Regions from separate parts of the Homo sapiens genome. Here regions 2 and 3 are each linked to region 1. Evidence: promoter capture Hi-C in 16 types of primary human blood cells and fetal thymus (Javierre and others, 2016). All regions are on one chromosome and are shown on one strand. Each heading gives the region's core, a stretch centred on a gene start or on the middle of the fragment in contact. The rest is flanking DNA. Distances are from core to core; before and after follow the strand shown. Region 1 holds the start of DRGX (dorsal root ganglia homeobox). Region 2 overlaps VSTM4 (V-set and transmembrane domain containing 4). Region 3 holds the start of FAM170B (family with sequence similarity 170 member B).

The links. Contacts are between HindIII fragments. The CHiCAGO score rates a contact against its expected background, and 5 or more counts as called.
Region 2: a fragment that was not itself captured here is called in contact with the fragment with the promoter of DRGX in region 1 in 1 of 17 cell types (M0 macrophages); the score reaches 5.0 in M0 macrophages.
Region 3: a fragment that was not itself captured here is called in contact with the fragment with the promoter of DRGX in region 1 in 1 of 17 cell types (M1 macrophages); the score reaches 5.3 in M1 macrophages.

What each region holds. Positions count from the first base shown.
Region 1 is chr10:49,393,706-49,398,345 of GRCh38, reverse strand. DRGX (dorsal root ganglia homeobox) reads left to right here and starts at 2,257. Exons shown (of 7, transcript NM_001276451.2): 1 at 2,257-2,411; 2 at 2,825-2,939. The coding sequence starts at 2,906. RefSeq lists a silencer at 83-242. The HindIII fragment of the contact is 25,200 bases long and covers 1-4,640 here.
Region 2 is chr10:49,077,843-49,082,482 of GRCh38, reverse strand. The region is part of intron 3 of VSTM4 (V-set and transmembrane domain containing 4); the gene reads left to right. Among named protein-coding and RNA genes, the nearest start is that of VSTM4, 35 kb to the left of the region's middle. The HindIII fragment of the contact is 1,649 bases long and covers 1,095-2,743 here.
Region 3 is chr10:49,133,065-49,137,704 of GRCh38, reverse strand. FAM170B (family with sequence similarity 170 member B) reads left to right here and starts at 3,684. Exons shown (of 2, transcript NM_001164484.2): 1 at 3,684-3,898. The coding sequence starts at 3,787. It overlaps FAM170B-AS1 (FAM170B antisense RNA 1), which reads right to left. Exons shown (of 6, transcript NR_038973.1): 2 at 1,624-2,049. The HindIII fragment of the contact is 994 bases long and covers 2,265-3,258 here.

The DNA of each region.
Region 1 (4,640 bases), core at 1,008-3,507:
TTGTCTCTGTTGCCAGCGCTGAGCGCATGTCCGGAGTAACTTTCGCAGGTTTGGACTGGGAGAGGATTGGGGTCGGTCCCCGGACGCCTGGGGTCCGGCCGGGCGGATCCCACCCCTGAGCAGCGAGGGGCCCCGGCTGGGCCCCCGGTACGGCTTCTTTCTCCGCAGCAGCCGGGGGTGGGTGGGGGTGCGGAAACCGGCGCCGCTGTCCAGGGTTCTGACCTGCCGGGTTGCTCGGCGAGCGCGCCGTCCTCAGACCGCGCAGGTCTGAGCCTGTCTCATCCGCGCCGGATGAGCCTGTCTCGTCCCGGGGTCATCTCTGGGCCTTAATAGGAACTTGCCTCGGTCGATGTCAGGGATGGGGAACTGAGACTGGCGTTTGGACCTCATTGGTTTCTGGGGCCAACACTGCACCCCGGGCTGGGCTGCTGCCGCTGAGGGTTCCCGCACACACCCCCAGGTGCGCCTGAGCATCTTGGCCGAGGCGGCCCAGAAGCTGTCCGCACCTCACTTCACGGCCACCGGGTTCCCAAAGCGCACAGGCAGGGAACTGCTGCCTAGGGCAGGAGGGAACCCGAGGGGACTTTCGGCAGACCTAGGCGGCAAGAGGAGCCTCGGGCTCTTGTCAAGAGCTCCAGAGAGCAGGGGCCCTCTGAGGGAGACAGGGAGAGAGACAGCGCGCGCGAGCCAGTCTCTTGACCTGGGCTAAGGGAGGATCAGCTCTAGGGGCTCCCAGCCCTCTTGGCATGACGTAGGAAAGGCCCTCGGCTGCCCTGCCGGCCCCTGCCTGCCACCTCACCCGCCTTCGGGACCTGCTAGCCGCTCCTCCCGGGCCGGCTGCCTGGACTCTCGGAGTCGGTGGCCCTGGCGGAAATGGCGCCCCGAGCTCTCTCCGCTCTGAAACGAGCGGAAGTTTCCTGTGATTCTTTCCCCGAGGCAGAGCAGACTCTGCTCTGGAGCGACTGAGCCCAGGAAGGGCCGCTTCACTGGAATAGATCCTGACTTGCCTCGACCGGAGCGGGACTGGTCTTCCTCCCGGCTGTTTTCGGAGGGGCGTCAACGGCGGCCGGGACCCAGCGCTCTGTCCTGCAGCTCGATGCTCCTTGCCCAGCGCTGGTGTCCAGCGGCGGGCCTGCCAGGCCTTTTGTTTCCAAAGCGCTGCGTCTTTAAGATCAAGGCTGTATCCCGGGCCGTGCAGGGACCCGACCCACCACCTCGCCAAGGCTCCCTAACGCAGCATTAGAATGTTTATAAAATATTCAATTTATGTAGTCTGTCCAAGAAGCCATCGTCCCAAAATAAAATCAGCAGTCTAGACGGAGCACAGACACCAGAACTTATCAACAGTTGTCTGACTTGCATCTTCTGATGCATCTTGAGTGGGTCATAATACCAACTTTATTTTCAGTGGTGCATAAATTAATTACACGCATTTAATAACCAAAATATCATTATATTCCCCCTTTAATATCATAAAGGCTTTCCGCCAGGGAAGCACTTAATAGTGCAGGGGGCCGTAACGGGCTATTATCCTGGTGTAATGCTATTACAGAACCAATTATGCGCCATTAGACTTGCTTTTTTTGCAGTTTATGTGATTTGATCCAATCCCGCGCCCCTGACTTGAAAATTTCAGCCCGGTACTTTAGAGTTTAATTTTCACCCAGGCAGAGAGAAGGGCGGTCTCTCTCCGTTGAGTGTCTGCCTCGGATGCATTTTAAAAGTAATTGCAAAGGGTCCCACCGCATATCATTTGCATCGAGAAGCGAACATAAATTCAGGGACCCCTTGCTGAGAACAAAATCAAACTTTCCTTTTGTACGATCGTTTGGAAAGGGAAGCCGTGTGCAAAGAGTCCCCCCAAAACCCATCCGGCGGCGACAATTAGCAGCGCTTTGCCAATTTGCAGCCCGGGAGTCACCAGGCCTTTGATAAGGGCAGCCCAAACCAGGCTCTCTCGGAGAAAGGTTTGCCTCTGAGGGGACATGAGGTGGGGGGTGGGGCCTAGTGTGTTTTCGGAAAATGTATGTTTTTGGGGGTGATGGTGGTGGTGGTTGTATCGTTCTCTTTTAAAAGAGGAAAAAGCATTCCTGATGTTTGCTGAGAAATGACGGATTTTTTTTTTAACACCACGTGGGCCATTTGTAAGGCCCAATAGACCTATCCAAGTTACTCGCTGTAGACAGCGCTGGAAATAATCAGATTAAGGCCAATTATGCGTGAGATTATAAAGGCGAGTGCTGAGCGGCGGCGCGCGCTGCAGACAGACAGCAAGACATCTGGCCACTTCCCGAGTCACTTCTTTGGTCCTGCGGGCGCCAGCCGCGCCGAGCCCCGCCCGCCGCCAGCCGAGCAGGGCTTGCGGATCGGAGGCGGTCACGCTCCGACCTCCTCGACCGCCGCCCGCCGAGGTATGCTCGGCTCCTGACCCACTCGCCGGGCCCCGAGCGCCGGGCCTTGGGGCTCGGCTGCCTTCCTGGCCTGAGCTGCAGCTCGCAGATGGCCTTGCGCGCTAGCCGGACCTGGCTGCGGTGGCCCGGGTGCAGGGCTTCTGGCTGGGACCCCAGAGAGCCAGAAACTACGCTGCGGGGTTTGGTGCTGGGGCCAGGGTGAGGGCACGGCCGTCCGGGAGGTGGACACACCCGAAGGACTGCCCTGTGGGGTTGCTGCTTGCGACGGGGCTGCCGCCTTCCCTCCTGTCCCCCGCAGTGAGATGAGGGCGTTGGGAGGGACTTTCCAGGAGGGGAGCGCCGGGTGCGCCCTAGGGCTGGGCGGGAGCGCTGGCAGAGGGAGACTTGAAGCTCTATCGCTGTTTGCTTTGCAGCCAGGCAGGAGCAACGCGCGCGGGTCCGTTCTGCTGCCACCCTCCCAGGTCTCGGCCGTCCAGCCGATCTGACAGCCGGCGATGTTTTATTTCCACTGCCCGCCACAGCTAGAGGGTAAGTAAGCGCTGCGCCCCAGGGTCTCCATGAAGCCAGAGCCGGCCAGAAAGGGCCGGAGCGGCAGCAGGGCTGGTGGGTGGCTGGGTCCCCGCCCTGCGGGGGGCGCAGCCGCCTGCCGGTGAGTAGGGGCCTCCCTGGACCCCTCCCTACACCCCACTCCAGGCCCGCTCCAGCTCCCCGCCCCGTCGCCACCTGCCTCCCAGCTCCCTCCCCGCCTGGGCCAGGACGCCCCGGGCTAGGCGTGCCGCGGGGACCGGCCGAATCCTCCCAGCACAGATGCTGGTGTCACGCCTCTAATTGGGGCTCCGCAACCCAGGGGGCCGCATCAATCTTTCACGGTGCTTCTGCAAACATCCCAGAAAGCAAAGGCGAGTGGACCCGCCGCGTCCTGGCCCAGATCACGAGCTGCACGAGCCTACAAGGGCCCGTCGCTGGGCTGCTCTCACTGGGGCCGCTGGCGAGAACACTGCAGGGGCCTCTTCCGCCCTGGATTCTGGGCAGCTCAATTCCCTTCCCGGCCTCCTGGCCGTCCCTGGAACCAGGTGGCCCTGCCCACCACCTGCCCGGACTGACCTAGCATGGCTCCTTCTCTGTGACTCACTAACCCTAAATGTCGACCACTCCCCACTCCCCAGGCCAGAATTTCCATCTTTGAGTGTCTCCAGGCCTGAGAAGAAATTTCCCCTCAGGATCCCCAGTCTGGCTTCTGCACCCAGTTGTTAGTGGGGGCGTGGGTTGGTGAGAAGGGGACAGTTGGGACCTCAGCATGCCCCTGCTCAGGACCCGAGGGATCCAAGGATGGGGTCTTCACATCAGGGGGCCAATTAGTAGCCATCAGGTGAGCCAATGCCACACTGTGGGCTTTAATGGGGCCTTCTGCAGAGCAGCAGTCTCAGCACTGGGGTATTGGGACTTTTGTAACCGTCGGACTGGCATTTGGCAACCTACTCGTTTGATTTATTATTGTGGTGGGAGAATTTGGGAAGCCAAGTAGTTGTGGGAGACAAGGGGCAGGGTATATGTTGTGAGGCGCTAGGAGACCTGAGACTTCAGGTGATGCTTGTCAGTCTTGCTGCAGGCTGCCCTGAGCAGTGGCTGAGCCTCAGAAAGTTTGTTTTTGTTTTTCTCATAAAAGCTCTTAAGAGTCCAATAGGATTTTCTAAAGGAGGCTAATGAGGACCAGTGTTTAAGCCCTGCTAGCTCTGTCAGCATTCCTAGGAAGGGAAGGCCACACATTTGCCTGCATTTCACATTTTATCCCCAAGTTCCCATGCAGGGTGGGTTTTATGGAAGGGTGGGAGACGTGCATCCCCTGACAGTGTACCCTAGGGGATGAGGGAGACTTTCTGTATGTTAAGGGTGCCTTCTCTGTGCATCTGAACCAGGGGTCTGGACTAATTGCCAGCCAGTGTCCCACCCTTCTGGTCAAAGTGGGTAAGGCAGAAGTTTGGGCATTTGGCAGGTAGGGGACGTCATGAATGTCTGTCTGCGGGGTGGACTGCAGCAGTGAGTTAGGGAGAGTCCTGGCCTGGCCTGCGGTGACCCCAGCTCTCAGCCCAGCTCAGCTGGCTTACTGTGCTCCCCACACCCTGGGCACATCCCACCTCAGTGCTGACTCTGTGATATAACCAGAAGAAAAGGAGATGGGTCTTTAAGAGCCTTTCATCCCTTTGTAGATGTGATTCTATGCCAGTTTTG
Region 2 (4,640 bases), core at 670-3,169, 320 kb after region 1:
CATGTTGACAAGGCTGGTTTCGAACTCCCGACCTCAGGTGATTGGTCTGCCTCGGCCTCCCACAGTGTTAGGATTACAGGCATGAGCCACCATGCCTGACCATATGTGGTATTTTAAAAGTGAACTCCAGATTTGATTAATTGCAGATATTTTGTTAAACTCAAGCCTTTGTTGAAAGGTCTGGCTTCAACCTTTCAACCAGCATTATTTGGCCTAGTCTGAGTTTTAAAACTTTTGAGCCAACATTTTATAGAGAGATTTTTACATAAAAAGGTAAAGGATGAATTGGAAGATCTGGCACCACTGGGCGGGCATTCCAGCCTGAGAGCAGTGCCCTGGAACTGAGTGCGGCAGGGCTTTGCATTAGCTGACATGACAGGAAGGTGACTCTGCAGTCGTAGGAATTTGTGACCCTGGCTTCAATGGCTCAGAGTTTAACTGTTGTTTGCAGAGAACAGCCAGGGAGGGGGGTTTTCATGTTTTGAGTGGACACAGCAGGGTGGTTATCTTTATGCAACAAAAGGAATGCTTGTAACAGAAGGGAAAAAAATTCGGAACATAGGCATACTGGTTGCTGCTCAATCAAGGGGAACTCAGGTGGTCTTTCTGAGCTTTTCTTCTCCTGCAAGGCAGCACTTTTTACAGATCTGTAGCTTCAAGAACAAAACAGAGAGTGGCCATGACCGGTCTTGTGTGTGTGGGGAGCCACACGCAGGCAGGAGGTGCCCGCTGGCTGGTGTCCATAACTGGAGGCCTGTGTGTTTGGCGGCCAGCTGAGCCTTCCAGAGTCGCCAGATGTTTTCTGATTCTGTAGCCCTGGCTGCCTGTGGGGAGCCCCCTTTGAGCCATGTTGAGGAAGCTGTGAACTGAAACTGTAGCTTGGGCCTTTTGAAGCCCCTGACCTCCTGCCTGGGCAGAGTGTGCCCCAAATGTCTGCAGCATGCTGCTAGGGACACTTGGGGAGAGATGCCTACTGCGGTTCTTACCTGCAACCTTGTCCCTCCTGGGTTCCTGCTGTTCTGAAGCGAAGGAAAGAGCTCAGATGAAGAGGTGAGCTTGTGGATCAGCTGCTGTGCTCCATGGGCATGGAAGCTTTTGTAAGACAATTTTTCTCTCCACTCCATGAATAAGACTAAAGGCAAGTTTCTCTGCCTTTTGGTCTGGGGACCACATTTGCATAGTCCCTTCCAGGCAGGTGCTGTGTTCACCTGCCTGAGGTTCTGTCGGCCTGGCAGCCTGACTGTGTTGTTCACCATCTTCTCCTGCCAGCAAGGGCTCTGCCATCCTGTTCTGGAGTAGTTTGCTGACCAATGTGGAAAGGCAGGACTGGCCGTGGGTTTGCTGGGTTGTGGCCATCCTGTGCCCTGGGATCCTGCCACAAATCCTGGTCTGTGAACTTTGCTCTGTCCCTGAGTTCGTCATGAAGTGTCTTGTCCAGAATCCAAGAGTCCTGTTGCTGAGTTTCACACTGTTTAAATGGATGCTGCAGCCTCTCTCCTAATTCTGACCCCTCACAGAGTTCTCCACCCTGTTAATCTACAGAGCCCACACATCAGAGACACAGGCATTTACTAGAAAGGCAGTTTTGATTTTTAGCTATGTGAGAACTTTCTCAAGCTCCTCACATTCCATCAGCTTCTGGACCTCTCTAACCTGACTCTGCCCCCACCAGCCTACTGACAGGGCTTTCCTCCAAGACTTTCCCAGTAGCTTCCTAGGAGCAAAACAGAGTGGATGTTTTCCAGCAGTTGATGCTATTAAGGCATCCTTCTTACAGTGCTTTCTTCTGGGCTTCCAGAACTCTCGCCCCAGCCCTCCTCTGCATCCATGACTAGCTCTGATCCTTTGTAGGAGACTCCCTTCCACACACCTGCCCCTCTCTCCTTAAATGTTAGTGCAGATGCACCCTTCACCTGCTACCTTGCCCTAAGGCACTTTCTACTTATTTTATTTTCAGTCCAGACATCTAAATTGCCAAGAGCAGAAATCTATTCAAACTAGCTTAGGCAAAAATGCTGACTGCCTTAAGAACACAGGAAGATCTCATAGACTCCAGGGGCAGAGGTTCTGCTGGGCTTCCCTGGGGCCTAGGCCAGGGAGGGGAGAGTCAAAAGGAACCTGAATGTCTGATTCCATTTCATGCCCCCTTTCTTCTCATTAACCATAAGCCTGACCTGCTTCTCCAGGCTCTCCCTGGGAGCCAGCCACCTGCTACTCCCAGTAGGCTTGCTTTTTCAGCTTAAGCACTTAACTAACTGCTTCTCCACGCCACAAGGGCTTTACAAATGTTCTTTTCCTGTTGACTCAGCTATTCCACTTCTAGGAACTTAATCTTGAGAACATATTGTGAAAGTTGTACTAAGGTTTAAGTTCATGAATGCTCACCACAGAATTATTTATGATGGGGAACAGGTAGAAACACTTTGAGTAGCCAATAGTAAGAGATTGTTAAATCATTGCTGATATATTAATATGATAAACTTTTATCATATTTTTCAAAATGATTCTGAATCATTTTTGAAAAGAATTTATTGAGAAAATGAGAGAAATTGAAAAAAGATGTGAAAGTATATGATCTCAATTTAAAAATATATGCATATTCATCATAAAGTATACCAAATATTTATTAATAGTAGTTATCTCAGGGTGACAGGATGGCCGATGGCTTTTTTTTCTATACATTTTTGTATTTTTTGTTATTTTAAATACAACTCGGTGCAGAACTCTAGCCCTCTTGGAAGCTTCTCTCAGCCTCCCCAGGCTGGGCTGGGTGTCTCTGAGTGTTCCTGGTATTGGACACACGTTCTTATTGTTACACTTACTAAGTGGTCCTCTATTTCTTGAAGAGAAAGCCTTTGTGTGTGCATTTTTATCTTTCTTGGACTCAGGAAAGTACTGACCATGGCTGATAGTAAATGTCTGTTGGTTGTAGAAAGTTAAGTCAACAGAGAAACATTTTTGCTAAGTTCAAATAAATGCCTGTGGCATTTTTCTTCAAAGATGGTTAGAATAATGCTTTTGGCTTCCCTTTTCACTTTCTGAGCAGCTTGGCATTGTATTGATCAGACTAATGATAACGTTGATTATTAGAGTTTAAGAAATGTAAGTATATGTAGCTGGGCACTGAGTCTCATGCCTGTAATTTTAGCTACTCAGGAGGCTGAGGCGGAAAGGTCTCCTGAGCCCAGGAGTTCAAGGCTGCAGTGAGCTGTGATTTTATCACTGCACTCCAGCCTGGGTGACGGAGTGAGACCTTATCTCTAAAAGAGATGTATGTACATGAACATGGTTTAACTGTTCAACTTAGACAACTTTTTATTTTGAGATTATTGTAGATTAATATCCATTTCTGGCCAGGCACAGTGGCTCATGCCTGTAATCCCAGCACTTTGGGAGGTGGAGGTGGGGGGATCACCTGAAGTCAGGAGTTCAAGACCAACCTGGCCAACATGGTGAAACCCTGTCTCTACCAAAAATACAAAAATTAGCTGGGTGTGGCGGCGTGGACCTGTAGCCCCAGCTACTCAGGAGGCTGAGGTTGGAGAAATGCTTGAACCTGAGAGGAGAAGGTTGCAGTGAGCCAAGATTATGCCACTGCGCTCCAGCCTGGGCCACAGGGCAAGAAAGAAAAAATCAATTTCTAAAAAATCATACACAGAGATCCCTTGTACCAGTTTGTTTCCTTTACCTAATGTCTCCCAATGATAGCATTTTGCAAAACCATAAAACAATATCACAAACAGGATATTAACATCCATACAGTCAAGATACAGAATATTTCTGTCATTATAAGTGGCCCTTGTAGCCAAACCCATTTTCTTCTCACCACCACCCCCTTCTTAACTGCTGGCAACCACTCATCTGTTCTCTATTTCTATAATTTTGTCATATCAAGAATGTTACATTGATGAAGAATGTCATATCAAGAATGTAACCTTTTGGGATTTTTTTTTTTTTTTCACTCAGCGTACTTCTCTGGAGATTCATCCAGGTTGGTGTGTGTGTCGATAGTTTGTTCTTTTTATTTCTGAGGATGCTGTGGTGTGGATGTACCACACTTTGTTTAACTATTCACTTGCTGAAGGATATCCGGTCTGTTTCCAGTTTTTGGCTACCCAACATACATGTACAGTTTTCCATGTGAACTTAAGCTGTCATTTTTCTGGGACAAATGCAAGGAATGCAATTTCTGGGCTGAATGGTTGTTACAGGTGTCTCCTTTGAGAAACTGTAAAGCTCTATTCTAGAGTGGCTGAGCCTCTTTACATTCCCACCAGCCACGTCTGAGTGACCCAGTTTATCTGTATCCTTGCCAGCATTTGGGGATGTCACTATTTTTTATTTTAGCCACCCTGAAAGGCATGAGGGATATTTTACTGTAGTTGCATTTTGCATTTCTCTAACAGCGATAGAAGTCAAACATTTTCTCATGGGATTGTTTGCCACCTGTACATTCTCTTTAGTGAAATGTCTGTATTTTTTTTTTTTTCATTTCTCCAACAGGATTGTGTGGTTTTTGCTGTTGAGTTTTTAGAGTTCTTTAGAGTCTGGATAGTAGTCCTTTGTTGGATATGTGGTTTACAAATATTTTCTCCCAGTCTGTTTGACTTTTTATCCTCTTTATATGTTTGTTTACAGAA
Region 3 (4,640 bases), core at 1,512-4,011, 260 kb after region 1:
CTTATGCTCACGGTGGGTGGGGAATTCCAGGAGGGCTTGTCTCTGCCTTGTGATGTCTTGGACCCCAGCTGAAAGACTTGAAGTCTGGGAAGCAAAATTATCTGAAGGTTCCTTCACTCACACATATGGTGGTTGATTGAGACCTTTGCTGGGGCTGCTGCCTGGAACACATCTATGTGGCCTCTCCATGTGGCCTAGGCTTCCTCACAACATAGTGGCTGAGTCCAAAGGAGAAGGGAGACAGAACCAGGAGGAAGTCACATCTTTTATGATCTGGCACTGACAGTCACAAAACATCACTCCTGTGCATTCTGTTGATTGAGGCAGTTACAAAATCCACCCCAGTTCAGGAAGAAGGACGCTGTCGTGTTATCAGAAGAGCATGTGGGTTGTGATATAGATTGGTTTGGCCATCTTTGGAAAATTTGGTCTCACACAGCCCCACCTAATCTTTTTCCTCTTTCTTGAGGTCAACACTGTTTTCTCTTGGGTGTGATTATTTTCAGATCTCCTCTGTGCCTTTTGATACATAGACAATATAGAATTTGGTCAGTGCTTTTGAGGGAGTATGTTTGATTTTTACATAGGTGGGGTCATCTATCTATTCCTTGTATCTTGTGTTTTCATTTAACATGAATTCACTTATCAGTATGTATAGATCTCTTTCTTTTTATCGTGGTGTAGTATTCCACAGTTTGATTATGTTGTAGTTTCTTTATTTTGATGGATCTTAGGAAAGTCTCCTGTCTTTATTTCTATTATACACAATGCTGCAATAAATATTTCTCTAGGTGCTATTTTATGCACATATCATGTAATGTGGCTGTTCCCTAGGAAAGAGATGATAGTAAACTGCTTAGGAAGTGCCTGCCCACTTTTAATTCTAATGGGTACCACCAAACTTTTTGAGAAAGTTAAGGTACACTGTTCCAACAGAGAATAAAAGTGTTCATTTCCTTACGTCCTCACCAGCACTGGGTATTGTCCATCTTTTTAACTCTTACCTATCTCATGGGTGAAAAGTGCTATACTGTATACTACACATTTTTAAGTTGTAGCTCCCTTATTACAGTAGGACTCAACATCTTCTCATATATTTATCATCCCTCTGCATTTCTTCCCCTGGAAACTGCTTGCTCATTTGCTTTTTTTTCCAGTTCCACTGAAAAGCAGAGGAATGCAAATTGAAACAGTGAGTTTTTTAAAGCAGTGAAATTAGAAAAGATGACAAAGTTTCTCAATGCTTGCGAAGACTAATATTGTTTAAGTTGAGAAAAAGCACCTTGTAATTACAAATGTTAACATATTTTCTTTCTACACATTTTTCATTAAAGCGTAAGCTCTGAACCATTATGAAAATATTCTTAATTGTTTTACATGAAGTGAGACCAAAGTTGATTCAAAAAAATAGCGAATATAATTTTTCAGCATAATTTGTTGGCTGAGTCTCCTTTCCTCCCAGACTTGCTGTTTACTTTGCCGCTTAACAATTCTCCATGATGTCATCTCTCTCTGAACTGCCTTCCATCCCCCAATGACCTACTTATTTTCTGTGCTGGCTGCCCCCTCTTGTTTTTGTAAGGCAAGTCTTTGTATTTATTTGTTAAAAAAGGGTGCACTTACACTATTTCCTCTTTTAGCCAGGGGACGTAGTCTTCTGTTTAGGTCAGGCGTGACTTTCATGGCTCAGTAGAGCACCGTGGTGTCTTCCTCCACACAGTGGCCTCACATTCTAGAGAGGAGGGTATTCCTCGGTGCTGGGTGTGTGGGGGATGTTGATGTTGCTTGTGGAATATTGGGATTATTTTCAATCCATCACCTATCTGAACTGTTTAGTATTTGGGATTCAAAGGAATAGAGTTGATGAGACTGACCAAGGGTGGGAAGAGATTAGCCACAGAGGGAAGTGGTAAGAAGCTTGTTGGAGGAAATGAGTGAAGTGCCAGCGTGTTGCAGAGCAGAGAGATGGCAGGTGAACATTTTATCAGGCTGATTGAGGCTGAAGCGTGGTTTGTGCAAATGGAGAAGGAAGAGGCAACTCCCAGAGTCCTAGTGGGAGAGAACCAACCACCCTGGAACTGCAGAGATCCAGGGAGCACAGAGGAGGCAGCTCCCAGAGGGAGTAACGCCTTTTTCAGCCCAACGTGTTCATCAGCTATTTACTCATTATTTCCTGAGTGCTTGTTAATATGTAAAACATTGATCTAGACACTAGAGATATAATGAGGTGGATGGAACGAAGGAAGTCCCTACCTGCCTAAGCTTACATCTAAGGAGGAGAAGACAGATACAGGTAAACCCATGAGATACACACACAGACATTATATACAGCCTAGGGTGGTAAATGCTATCATGGAAAAATAAAGCAGGGTAAGGTGACAGAGAGTTGTAGGGCCAAAGAAAGCTCTTTTCCTGGGGGTGCCAGGCAGGCTCCTCTGACCAGGTGATGTTTCAGAGGAGACCGGAAGGAGAGAGAGCCACACAGGAACCTAGGGGAAAGCCTGGAACAGGCACAAGGAAGAGCAAGTGCGAGAGCCCAGAGCCCGTGAGGGGAGGATGCCGGGCATGTCCGGGAGCAGTGAAGTGTCTGGAGTCACAGGAACTGAGCAAGGGAGTGAGTAGAGGAGAGGGGAGGGGAGGGGTGGGGTGGGGTTGTGGAGGGTTGAGGAGCTAAACAGGGTCAGCGTGGGGACGTAAGATGGGGGAGAGAAGGAGAGATTTTCCACACTGGGAAGCAGGGTCATTTTATGTTGGCTGCTGACTGTATGTATGTGAGCCTATGTATGGTTAATTAATCTGGCATGAATTTGTGTGCATGTATGTGTGTGTGGTTAAGTAAATATGTGTGTGAATTTGTATGTGTGAGCATGTTATGTGTCTATGTGAACACACGTACATATGTTTATGTTACTGTGTGTGCCATATGTGTTCCAGCGTATATGTGTGTCTGAGTGATCATGTATGCGTTTCTTTGTGTGTGAGTGACATAGTATGGACATGTGTCCCCTTCAAATCTCATGTTGAAATTTGATATCCAATGTGAGAGGTGGGCGTAGAGGGAGGTGTTTGGGTGACGGGGACAAATCCCTCATGAAGGGCTCAGTGCCACCCTCGTGGTAAAGAGTTCTCACTCTTAGTTCTGTGAGAACTGAGTGTTGAAAAGAGCCTGTCACTTCCTCCACTCTTTCTTCCTTCCTCTCTTACCCATGTGATCTAAACACACCTGCTCCCCTTCCCCATTTGCTGAGAATGGAAGCTTCCTAAGGCCCTCACCAGAAGCAGATGCTGGCACTATGCTTTGTGTACAGGCTGCAGAAACATGAGCCCAATACACTTCTTTCTTTTATAAATTACCCAACCTCAGGTATCCCTTTGTAAGCCACACAGATGGACTAAGACAGCGGTTCCATGCATGCTTAAGTGTATACAAGTGTCTCTGTGTTTATGTGTTTGTGTTTTTATGTGTGTCTAAGGAGTTAAGAGTATGTGTGTTTTGTGTTTCTGTGTGTCCATGATAATACACAAGACAGAAAAGGAGTTCCCATGGGGAAATGAGAACATGTTGGGAAGCCTCTCCTGGTATCCAGCCTCAGCCTCTGCCCTCGCCATGGGTCACAGAACAGACCAGTGCCATCGATGAGGTCACACAGTAGAGCTAGGATCTTAGCGACCATGGGGAGCTCAGTGTCCACTCTGGCTGGGGCCAGCTGGAGGCCTTCAGTACAGCCCCAGCCAACTCTCACTGAACAGCTGGAGCACCGACACCCTGGGCACTCATTTCAAATCATGAAATGCTACTTCACAGATCACAGGGGAGAACAGTCACCCACCGATGGGACCACCCTCAGCTTGACCAGCCCTGAGTCCACTGAGGAGAGTGTGGAAGTGTTCTGGCCAGGTAGGTGAAAAGAAAGGCCTGGAAGGTCAGCCAGCTGTGCTCCCTGGGAAGGAAGCCCTGATGGGAAGGGACAGTGCCAGGTTGCCTCCTGATACTGTTACCAAATGGTTGTGTTGACCATAAACATAGATGTGGAGGGAAAGGAAATTGATATTTATGGGACACTTGGTGTGACTGAGGCTGTTATGAGTATATAAGGTGTTTTCAGGGGATATGAGAATGAAAATGTAAAATGTTTATAATTATGTATTTATTTTAATGTGTATTTGAGAAAACAACACGTCCATCCTGTGATTTCAGCAGTGAAATAAAAAATTCCTTTATAACAAAATGATGAAAGTTAATCTAGAACATCAATTTGAAGACCGCGGGGACGTGTCTGTGGGCAGCACCTAAGTGTCACACCAGCTCTGGGGGCCCAATGGCTCCACCACTCATTCAAACTCCATGCCTCTCTTTCCTACTCTGTTGAATGGGAATCCTAACAATATAATTTCTTAGGGTTGTTTTGAATATTAAACTTGGCAAGCACTTCCATGGCAAGAGGGACACAGTAAGTGTTGAAGGAGATAGTGAGATGCCCCCTCGGGAAGGTGAAGACAGGTCACAAATGTTGAAGAGGATGGTGGGTCTGGGTGGCTTGGCCAAGGCACTTTGCATGTGTTGTTTTTTAAATGGGCTTTACTGAGGTGTCTTTTATGCACACAGACTTCAGCAATTTTAAATGCACAATTTAAAGAAG